Regions from separate parts of the Homo sapiens genome. Here all the other regions are linked to region 1. The links are contacts of gene promoters, found by promoter capture Hi-C in human tissues and cell types (Jung and others, 2019). All regions are on one chromosome and are shown on one strand. The core of a region is centred on a gene start or on the middle of the fragment in contact, and the rest is flanking DNA. Distances in the headings are between cores, read along the strand shown. Region 1 holds the start of ERMN (ermin). Region 2 overlaps ACVR1 (activin A receptor type 1). Region 3 has its middle 13 kb from the start of ACVR1C.

Evidence for each region. The method cuts DNA at HindIII sites, captures the fragments that hold promoters and counts their contacts. A contact is called where the count stands out against the background at its distance.
Region 2: a fragment that was not itself captured here is called in contact with the fragment with the promoter of ERMN in region 1 in 1 of the 25 tissues and cell types used here (spleen).
Region 3: a contact is called between a fragment that was not itself captured here and the fragment with the promoter of ERMN in region 1, in 1 of the 25 tissues and cell types used here (lymphoblastoid cells).

Annotation. Positions count from the first base shown.
Region 1 is chr2:157,324,157-157,327,591 of GRCh38, reverse strand. It overlaps ERMN (ermin), which reads left to right and starts at 1,768. Exons shown (of 3, transcript NM_020711.3): 1 at 1,768-2,190; 2 at 2,830-2,922. The coding sequence starts at 1,950. RefSeq lists an enhancer at 1,335-1,884. The HindIII fragment of the contact is 5,881 bases long and covers 1-3,435 here.
Region 2 is chr2:157,787,666-157,791,100 of GRCh38, reverse strand. All of the region lies in intron 3 of ACVR1 (activin A receptor type 1), which reads left to right. Among named protein-coding and RNA genes, the nearest start is that of ACVR1, 87 kb to the left of the region's middle. The HindIII fragment of the contact is 5,724 bases long and covers 1-3,435 here.
Region 3 is chr2:157,640,443-157,643,877 of GRCh38, reverse strand. No RefSeq gene overlaps it. Among named protein-coding and RNA genes, the nearest start is that of ACVR1C, 13 kb to the right of the region's middle. The HindIII fragment of the contact is 4,510 bases long and covers 1-3,435 here.

The DNA of each region.
Region 1 (3,435 bases), core at 519-3,018:
GTAGGCTTGCTGGCTCTGTGACCTTACTAGCTGAACTCCTTAATCTCTCTGCACTTCATTTTTCTAGTCTATAAAATGGAGATAACAACAGCACCTACCTCAGAAGACTGTTATGAAGAGTAAGTGTATTACTATTTATGAGTCAATTAGGACAGTAGCTTGCACATAATAAGTGTGATATGAGCGTTTGTTAAAACAGTTAAACAATCAAACAAACATAGAATTAGAGTGCTGACTAGAGAACAGCTGGTGATGACGCGGGAGGGAGATCTAGGATCTATTAGAGATGTCTTCCAAGGACAAGGGAGAGGGGATTATACAAGAGTGAGGTGTTGTCCCTGATATAGACCTGAATGGGCTCAGCCCTAGACACACTTTTAAAGGTGATATGCTTACTACAACTCTTCAACACCTATTCTTCTTCTCTTTAAAAATGATCTGAAATTTATTCTCTTGGGGATAAAATTTATTGTATATATTATATATATAATATAATTCTTGTTATGTATGTGTATATATATAATTATTTGTGTATATATGTGTATATATATAATTATTTTTATTGCGTGCTACTATTCCAAGCCAGATGCTAAGTGCTGGGGACACATGTAAGCAAGTTAAACTGGCCCCTCGCCAGATGAAACTTAGTTTGCAGTTGGTGAAACAGACATTACAGAGATAATTGTGCAGTTGCTTATTTAGTTACAACCATGAAGAATACTCTGAAGGGCAAAGACAATGTGTAACAGAGTCCTGTCCTAATCCTGGCGGTTAGAGATAGTGTAGTTAAGGAGATGATATTTAAGCTTAAAAACAGAACTTAGGGAAGCTGGTCAGCCCAGGGCTTGGGCTTGAGGAAGAGAAGGGCATTTCACATAGAAGGAGCTGTGTGGGCAAAGGCTCTGGAACCATTTTGTACTATGAGAAATCCAAAAAAGAAAAAGATTTAAAAAGGAAGGGGTGGTCAGTAGCAGTCATTTAACATAATCACCTGTTTCTCCCAAGGGCAGATTGCATTGGTCCTCTACATTTTACCAGCATTGTGTAATATCAGTATGGAATAGAAAGGATTGTAATTCTGATTGGGGGAGGAGAAACCTTCATGGCGATAATTTTATTAGGGTTTTAAAGGATCGGCTGGGCTTCAGCAGACATAAACTAGAGGATAAGAAGCTATAGACTAAGTAAATTACTCTGAAATTATAAAACTTTTGGTATTAGCAAGTTGGTAGAATTTGTTTATTTCATAGGTCCCTTCTCCAGCCTGCTGGAAGCACACCATCAAATCTGCAGCCAGAACCATTTACAGTAAAGTTGTCCTGTTTATAGGTTTTTTCCATAAGCTGTTTTATTTTTTAATAAATAAGAAACAATGCCATTGTCCTTTACAAAATAGCTGAGGTTTTACTTGAACAAAATCTGTTTGGAAATGTTAAGCTGGTTACACAGAACTAATATGCCTCAAGGTGGTCATTCTCTCTGGATTAAAGCTGTGGGACAATTGTGGCTCCTGTTACAGGGAAAATTACAATGGGCCATTATGAAAAGGGACAAAAATCTCTGTTCCCAGAGGGGGACTGACAAGCTGAAAGTCCCTCTCTACATGCCAACACAAAAGCCTGATTGCTTCAGATTGTTTGTTTATGTAAATCAAAAGGATGCCTTTAACTCTGCCAGGGAACTGGCAAGCAACAAAGAAGGTGGTGATTGGCTGGATTCTTGCTCATGGCTCCTGGCAGATCTGACAAATCCTCTTGCTTTTGCTCTAATCTCTGTCTGGATACTTTTAGGAAAAGAACCTTGTTATTATGTACTAAAGTGAATAATTTGTGCTCTTAGAGTAGGAGTTGGAACTATAGGACTTGAAGGCAAGAGCAGGTATCTTATCAAGGATCTACTCACTCAGTTTCCCTAAAGCTCTCTCTCCAGATCGGATTCAACCGCACATCATGACAGATGTTCCGGCTACATTTACCCAGGCTGAGTGTAATGGGGATAAACCACCTGAAAACGGTCAACAAACAATCACTAAAATCAGTGAGGAATTGACTGATGTGGACAGCCCCCTGCCACACTACAGGGTAGAACCCAGTCTGGAAGGTGCACTCACCAAAGGAAGTCAGGAGGAAAGAAGAAAATTACAAGGGAACATGCTGCTCAACTCATCCATGGAGGACAAAATGCTAAAAGGTAAAGTGTTTCCCTTCTCCTTAATTTTCTTGTTTTGACTTATAAATTTACCCTGGATTTTTTTGATAAACTATTATCGAAATGAGCTGGACACCCCAAAAATGTAGCCCTTTATTCTACTACGCATAGTATAAGGACTAAACCTCTGCCTCTGGTGAAATCCAGGCTGGTCTATTTGACAGCTGTGACCCCAGACAACTTTCTGTCTCCCGAAGCCTGAGTTTTTTTCACTAGAAGAAGGCGGAATAATAATAATAACTACAAGTCTAGGGTAAGTATTGGCTAAATGTTAACTACTGTATTTATTATGATTATGGACAGCCCCATATTATTTGAACAAAGAGAATTCAAAATGTTAAAATTTCCTTCTAAATATAACTGAAGTTCTCTGAATTTATGGTTCTATATCTTATATATATATCTTATATAAATATTAAAGGAGAGATTACAATCAATAAAGTGATCATTAAGTAAATAAATTGAATTGATAAAGAATGAATCCAAAGAGTGAAATAGTAAATTTTAATGATCAGATTTAAAATTAAAGACTTCTACCTAGAGTTTAAATTGATAACTTATTAACTGTTGAACAATAAATATTTTAAATGTTAAAATACTGATTTTATATTTTTTTCCTAGAAAACCCAGAAGAGAAACTCTTTATTGTTCATAAGGCTATCACAGATCTTTCTCTCCAAGAAACTAGTGCTGATGAAATGACATTCAGAGAAGGTAACAAGAACTACAGTTTTGTACACAGAAATTGTTTGACTGAGTATGGATGACAGTCTTTCCATGAAATGTTGCATGAGCGTGGGGTTGACAAAGCAATCCAGGCAATGACTTCAAATTTTCAAAGCTGCTGTAGGCAGATAAGAGAGTCTTAACTTATCTGTGGGTTCCACCTTATAAAGCATTCCAGACTGTTCAAGGCTGAGGCTGCATGGAATGGCATAGCTGATTGGCATACCAACGTGATGTCTATCTCTTAAGTTAGTCCACTGAGTCAACCCTACTTTTTGATTTGGTGTGTCCAAATCTGTGTGTGCACCTTGTGAAAGGTAAATGTTTCAAAAACGGGTCTTTCCTAAAAGTCTACAATTAACATACAGCTTTTTTTTTTTTTTTTGAGACGGAGTGTCACTCTTGTTGCCCAGGCTGGAGTGCAATGGTGCAATCTCGGCAGACTGCAACCTCTGTCTCCAGGGTTCAAGCGATTCTCCTGCCTCAGCTTCCTGAGTAACT
Region 2 (3,435 bases), core at 317-2,816, 460 kb before region 1:
TTGGGGCTGGTGATGCAGGGAAGCTAAGTTTTGAAGGATAAGTAGCCATTAGACCAGCCGAGGAGGGACTAAGAAGGACATTGCAGGCAGGGGAAGGGTGAAGTCCAGAGACGTGAGATCATGAGATCATGAGCGGTCACCATGTCATGAGACGGAATTAAGGTTGAGAGTTGAGCCCTGCAGGCATGGCAGAGCCTTATGCTAAGGTGTTTGTCTTCTATCCTGAAGGCAATGGAGAACTGTGGAGAGATTAAGTAGGTGCAGTTTGTGTTTTGAAAGAGTGGTGTGTGGTGAAAGTGGATCATAGAGTGTGGCAAGATGAGAAGTAAAGGGATGGGAAAAACTAATCCTCCTGCAGTTTAGGGACAGGCAGGCACACATACTCCATTTTCAAAGGCATCCCAACTGTAGCAACTAAATGGTGGCAAACAAAACAAAAACAAAGCCTTAGTGCGAACGTAGAACTGTTACAGGTGGCTCACAAATGATATTAACAGTGACAAAACAACAATAATCTAATAATAATGCTATTGCTAGTTTTATTATGAAAGCAGAAGCCAGAGCTGCTGACTTTTCTAACAACTTTTGCAGGACATTTAAATCCCTCTAGCTGGCCCTTTGTTCCTGTGTTGCCATGGAGTGTCAATAAGCCCAGCTCAGAATAACCCAGGCAGTGAAATGAGAGGTACAGCTTGCTCACTGGCATGTTGGCTGGCCAGGTTACACTGTTTTCATTGCTCCCATCTTGGGAGGAGCACTGGGCAGCTGGTTGCCCTGGCAGCTGTGAAGGTGTATGTCTCTTGGCTGCCCAGAGTTCGAAACGGAACCAAAACTTGCCTGCCTACTGAGCATGTGCAGCTCCTGACTGAGCTGACAGCAACTGAAAAAAGCCCACTGAGCACCTGTCCCTTGTACACCAGCCCCTGGCCGACTGCCATTTAGGACAATGTGGACTTACTTAGTAGACAGGTGAGGTGCTGAGCAGATTTTAATGGTCTGAGGAAGATCTTGGGAACTTTGGCCCTACTTAAAAGGAAGAAAAAAAAAGCAGCAGGCTTCTGAGCAGTTCCATTTGGTGCTTCTGTGGTTAGTGGGTGGCCACACTGGCTACGTATGTACAGTATGTGCCTGAAGACTTCATATTGTTCTCCTTACAGCAGTTCAGTAAACTAAGTAAGTTTTCTCTTTGAGAGAAAGGCTTTCCTAAAAGTCTCCTAGTGGTAGCCATCCATGGTTTATACAGCCTCAGCTTTAGAAAGTTTTGGAGTTAAACTATTTTGTTTCATTTTATACCTGCTCTTTAATCCCTAGTGATTGTTAGTCATTTCTACAAGGTGTCTCTTTGCTAGATTATTATTTCTCAGTAGTCCAAATATTGGCACAAGTACAATCACAGAATAGAATCCCAGCATGTCAGGAGCTGTCTGTTCCCTTTTGGGATTTCTTCCATTTCCTTCTGGACTTTAATCTCCTCAGTAAGCTTGCCATTGTTGGACAGACTTGGTGGCCAGTGTGGATGGAAGCAGGCTCTGGAAGGAAATGCTTCTGAAATGACTGGTGGCATTAAAGCTACTATTTAAAAGTGACCCTTTGTAGATACTTGGGTTATCTTTAGGCTGTCAGTGATCTGCAGCTACAGGAGCCAGAGGGAATCTGCGGAAACTCTTGTTTGTTGCTCTCGCCTGGATTTGTGTTTAGATATTCTTGCTCCCCAGCCAGTGGCCTCGTGACACATCTCAGATTTAGCTGGCTTTCTTCTGCCAAAGTCCAAGATTATTGTGGAAACTGGGAATGGTTTGCCATGGCACAGATTGAAGGGGAGGGATTGTGTGTTTGAAAAGCCAGTTCAGCTTCACAGCACTCAAATGAGATGCTTTCTGTTTCTACCTGGAGTGTAGGCACCTGGAGCCTTTCTGTGGGCCCAGGGGTAAAAAAGGACAAGCTCAAAATGACTCAAATTTAACTGTCTCATTGTGACTGTAAGATCTTTATTCTGTGACTGATAAGCCAATCTTGTTCAATATGTTAAACCTGAGAATTAATGAATTGTTTTGGACTATATTAATTAGACTGATAGGGGAAAGAAGATATGTAAAGCAAAGATCAAGTTATAAAGGCTGGGATACAGAGGCACAGGCACATCTTCCTGGGGTTGAAGACATGGGATTCCTTTCTTCATTAACCTTTCATGGAGTTCTGGACTTGGTAGGGCCTTGGGAAATGAATGGGGAAATTGGAGGATAGGGAAGTAGCATTATCAGAGGCTTGGACTCTGCCCCAAGTTTTTACCCTTTTGACTGTTATTTTAAAATCGCTTTGGCTTCATCTAGGATGGAAAGTAAATACAGTAACCCCCTATTTATCCATGGGGAATACATTCCAAGACCCCCGGTGGATGCCTGAAACCACAGATAGTATTGAACCTTATCTATACTACATCTTTTCCTATGTCTAGGATAAAGTTTAATTTATAAATTAGGCACAGGAAGAGATTAACAACAATAGCAAAGTAAAATAGAACAATTATAACAATAGGCTGGCATCACCACTCTTGTGCTTTGGGGCAGTTATTAAGTAAAGGAAGGGTTCCTTGAACGCACCTGCAATACCATGGCAGTGGATCTGGTAACCAAGACATCTGCTCAGTGACTAGCAGGATGGTAGCATCTACAGTGTGGGTACGCTGGACAAATGGATGATTCATGTCCTGGGCAGGATGGAGCTGGACAACGTGAGATTCCATCATGCTACTCAAACAGCATATAACTTAGAACTTAGGAAATGTTCATTTCTGGAATTTTTTGCTTAATATTTTTGGACTGTGGTTGATGGTAGGTAACCGAAATAGTGGAAAGTGAAACGGTGCATAAGGGGGGATAAGTGGGGACTACTGTAGTCTGGAAGTTACTTTGTTCACTCTGTGCTTTTCTGTGGGGCAGGATAGGTTGTGGAGCTAGGGAAGGGGAGTTTAACTAAGTCAGGACATTTTCACCTTTAGCTGTGGGTGTCACAGTGCCTAAAGGCTGCATTTCAAGACTTGTTAAACAAATTGGAGCCCTGCTTAACTTTTGAAGGGTTTGTCTCTGTAGTTTGAAAGCTTCCAGAAAGGCTGTAGGGGTGTGGTGGAGGCTCGCTGATGGTAACCACAGCTAAGATTGGCAACCTTGGAGGAGGCCCAGTCCATGAATCCCAGAGAGAGAGGTAGAGTAGGAGGCAAGAAGAGAAATTGAAGTGGAGAGCTAAGCACAAAAGCCACCTGCTGGCTTTTTCTCCACTGTTCTATCTCATCTAGAGCCCATTGTTAAATGTTTCCTGTAAAACCAAAATTCTCAGTGTAGAGCCCAGGTAGGAAACCCTTACTGAAATGCCATACACTCTCTGGTTAGCCCGAGGAGGTGGGGGAAACAACGAAAAGTGATTCCTCAGAATCAACCA
Region 3 (3,435 bases), core at 392-2,891, 320 kb before region 1:
TTATTGCAAATGCCAGCTTTAAAAAGGACAAAAATGGGGAGTCAGGGTTAGGCCAAAATAAGGTCAATAAAGGTGTGGGGAAAAATAACTCAGGGAATAGGAAAGGAGAGACAGCAGACAAGAACAGAGGACGCATTGGTGACTACTGGCAATTTTGGAGGGATTTTAAAGTAATTTTGCATGGCTCAGTAACTTACCTGGGAGATTTTCTATCATTTCTAATATTAACAAATCTTTGACTCAACCAAGGACATAAGGGGTGAGTAAGGAGCATTAAAATCAACAACAGAGTGTCCAGAAATGGAATCAGAACAATAAACGCTTAGGGCCATTAACAGCCAGTGAAGCCACTATTATTTCTTAGGGGAACCACATAGAAGATATATGCGTGCCCTGAGCACATGAGTGTTCTCTCTAAATTGAGACTGGGGAACAGTGGCTATGAGTCAGTACCTTCACGAAGAACAGAGCCAACTTATGTTTGCCTCTTTTCACTGTGTCTTTACATTTTTTAATCATGGGGCCTCATTGAAAATCAGAAAGAGATTATACATATTCTTCCTAGAGAAGTAGTTTATATTTACATATACATATATGCACAGTGTTTTGTGAATTGATCACCCCTTCTCTAATGTTCTTGGTCATGTAGGGAAATGGAAACTGCATAACTAATAGCCAGTAACAATAGCTTCAATTAATTATGAATTCATAAAGCTGACAGTAACTAATAGCTACTATTAAGTCCTTACTGTGTTAAAGACATTATGCAAAGCCCTTCATATGCATTATCTCATTGAATCCTCACTTCTACCCTATGAGATAAACAATATTATTGACCCTCATTTTAAGGATGAGAAAACTGAGGCTTAGAGAAGTTAAGTAGCTTGCTCTACTGCTAGCAAGTGGCAAAACCCAAAATCAGACTGAGATCTGTTTGATGCCTAGCATATACTCTCAAGTACTCCCTTATGCTACTTCTAAATTACTTTTTATAGACACTTGACATCACATGTTTCAACCTGGGCTTTAAGGGATTTGTGAATCATCTGCATTTATATGCTATGTTCTATATGTGTGTATGAGTGTGTTTTTGGGGGTCCATAGCTTTCATCGGATTCCCTTAGAAGATCTCATTTAAAACAGCAAAGAATCAGTCATCTAGCTCTTCTGGGGTTTAGCTCAGAATTAAGTTAGTCGTTTACACAGTCACATCATTGGGTCACACTGAGTCTCTTCCTTCCACTCCTCTCACCTCACAGAATTGCTATTATTAAGTTGTTATGGAATCAAGTTTAAGTCTGGAATTAAGAAACTCTCCAGAAAAAGGTATACAAAATATACTACTGTATTTACTTCAGGAACATTTTTGAGTATGTTTCTTACCGTATCTTTCAGTGTCTTCAAAACAAAATTCCAAGTAATAAATTGTGTTTAGGAGAAAAAAAATCCTTATGCATAATAAAGAATACAATGGTGTTTCTCTTTACTCAAAAGCCAAAATTTCAGACTCAAATCTGCAATCCAACTTTAGTACCTATGTAGGAGTCTTTGGCCTACATGTTGCATTTTCACTTCCCCCTCAGTCATAACCATCTACTCCAATTTGTATTTTCCTTTTTCTGAATATACATACTTATATTTTATTCCATGTATTCTTATAAAGCATCTCAAATGCTTTGTGGAACAAACAGAAATACAATTAAAAATTTAACTTTTTCTCCATCTTTCTCTTCTACCATGCCATGCTTCAAAAGAGGCAGAGCTTTTCAAATTTGCAGAAATTTGTTCTTTAATACCTTAACCTTCAATGACGCAAGGAAACAATCCCCAGTTAGGACAATATAACAGACTAAAATAATATCTTCAATCACCGCTACTTTTCTTGCTGATTATTTAACTAATAGAGGAACGTATCTTGCTTCCCTCCTCCCGGACAAATACTTTTCTCAAGGAAAAATAGATTTATTTCTTTCATGATTGGATTTTCTAGGAAATAGCTGTATTGTAGCTATTTTGTGTTGTGAATAGAATGAAAGTCATATGCTTTAAACTCCAGCATTAAAGGGACGGACTTCCCTTTCAGTTGTGTACCCTTGAGTACATGAAATTGAAGTCTATCTCAGTGAAAAAATCAACACACTGGCACAGGTGTTGGCCAATACAGTGGTATCTACACATAGAGTCAACATTTTTCTTAGGAAAGAATTTTAAATTGTGTTACGCAGTTACCATAAGTAATTGGTTAAGAGTCTAAACCATGGTGCCATAGCAAGAGTCTTGGTAATGTTTTAAGTCAGGTTGAACCAATTGTGAGCTTTGCTAGAAGACTACGAAAAATCAGGGAGCACTTCAAGACAGTTTCATTGAATGTCTAGTCTAAAAACATGTATCCAGAAAATCTTACCCATAAGCTTGGCTTTAATTACCTTCTGTATAAGAGAACTCTCAAATTTTTACTTCCAGCCACATCCAATCCTCTAAGCCCTAGATCTATATAGCTACCTACTGACTTAGCTCTACTTGGCATCTACAGCCATTTCAAACTTAAGGTCGGAAAAGGAGTTTGTACACATCCAACCTGACCCTTCTCAGAGTTCCCTCTTGAGTGAATGGCATCTTTGTCCACCTAGTGCAGACATTAGAATCCTGGGGGATACCTTGAATCATTCTACTCGATTCCTACCTCCTCCTCCTCCCTTAACATAATTCTATTTTCTCCATCACCCCTGCTTATACTGGTTTCTGTTAACATCTTTTTTCTTTTCCCAGATGACTGCATAATCCTCCCAGCTAGTGGCCTAGATTTCACTCTTGCCTAGCCACAGCCCACTCTCCATACAGAAGCTAGAGTGACATTTTTAACATTTCCATCTAATTATATCATCTCCTTGCTTGAAATTCTTCAATGACTTCCCATTACTTTAAAAATTAAGACTCAAATCCTTAACATGGCCTAAAAGCTGCCTGCCTGATCTGAATACTTTTTTGGAGTCATCTCTAGCACTTTTCATATCTTGCTACATTGGCCTTATTTAGCTTCCTCTAAAACCAACTGCCTTCTTTCCTTGAGTCATTTACACACACACACACACACACACACACACACACACACAGACACACACACACACACTCCTGATGCCTAATGTCTGTTCTACTGTCAGGATATGTTTGACTCACTCCCTAAGAAAAATCTTTCATGCCATCTCTGACAGATTCAGCCCATTATGGTTTTTATAGTACCCTGTATTTGCTCTTTGTAATACTTATTGTAATTTAATAAATTGTGTAACTACTTGTTTAAGATATTTCTCTTTTGTTTGACATAAATTCCATGAACAGGGAATGGCATCTCTCTTTTTCACTCTATGTACCCAGTGCCTGGCATATTGCATTTCACAGAGTAGGTGTTGAAAAAATTACTAAACGAATTAGGTA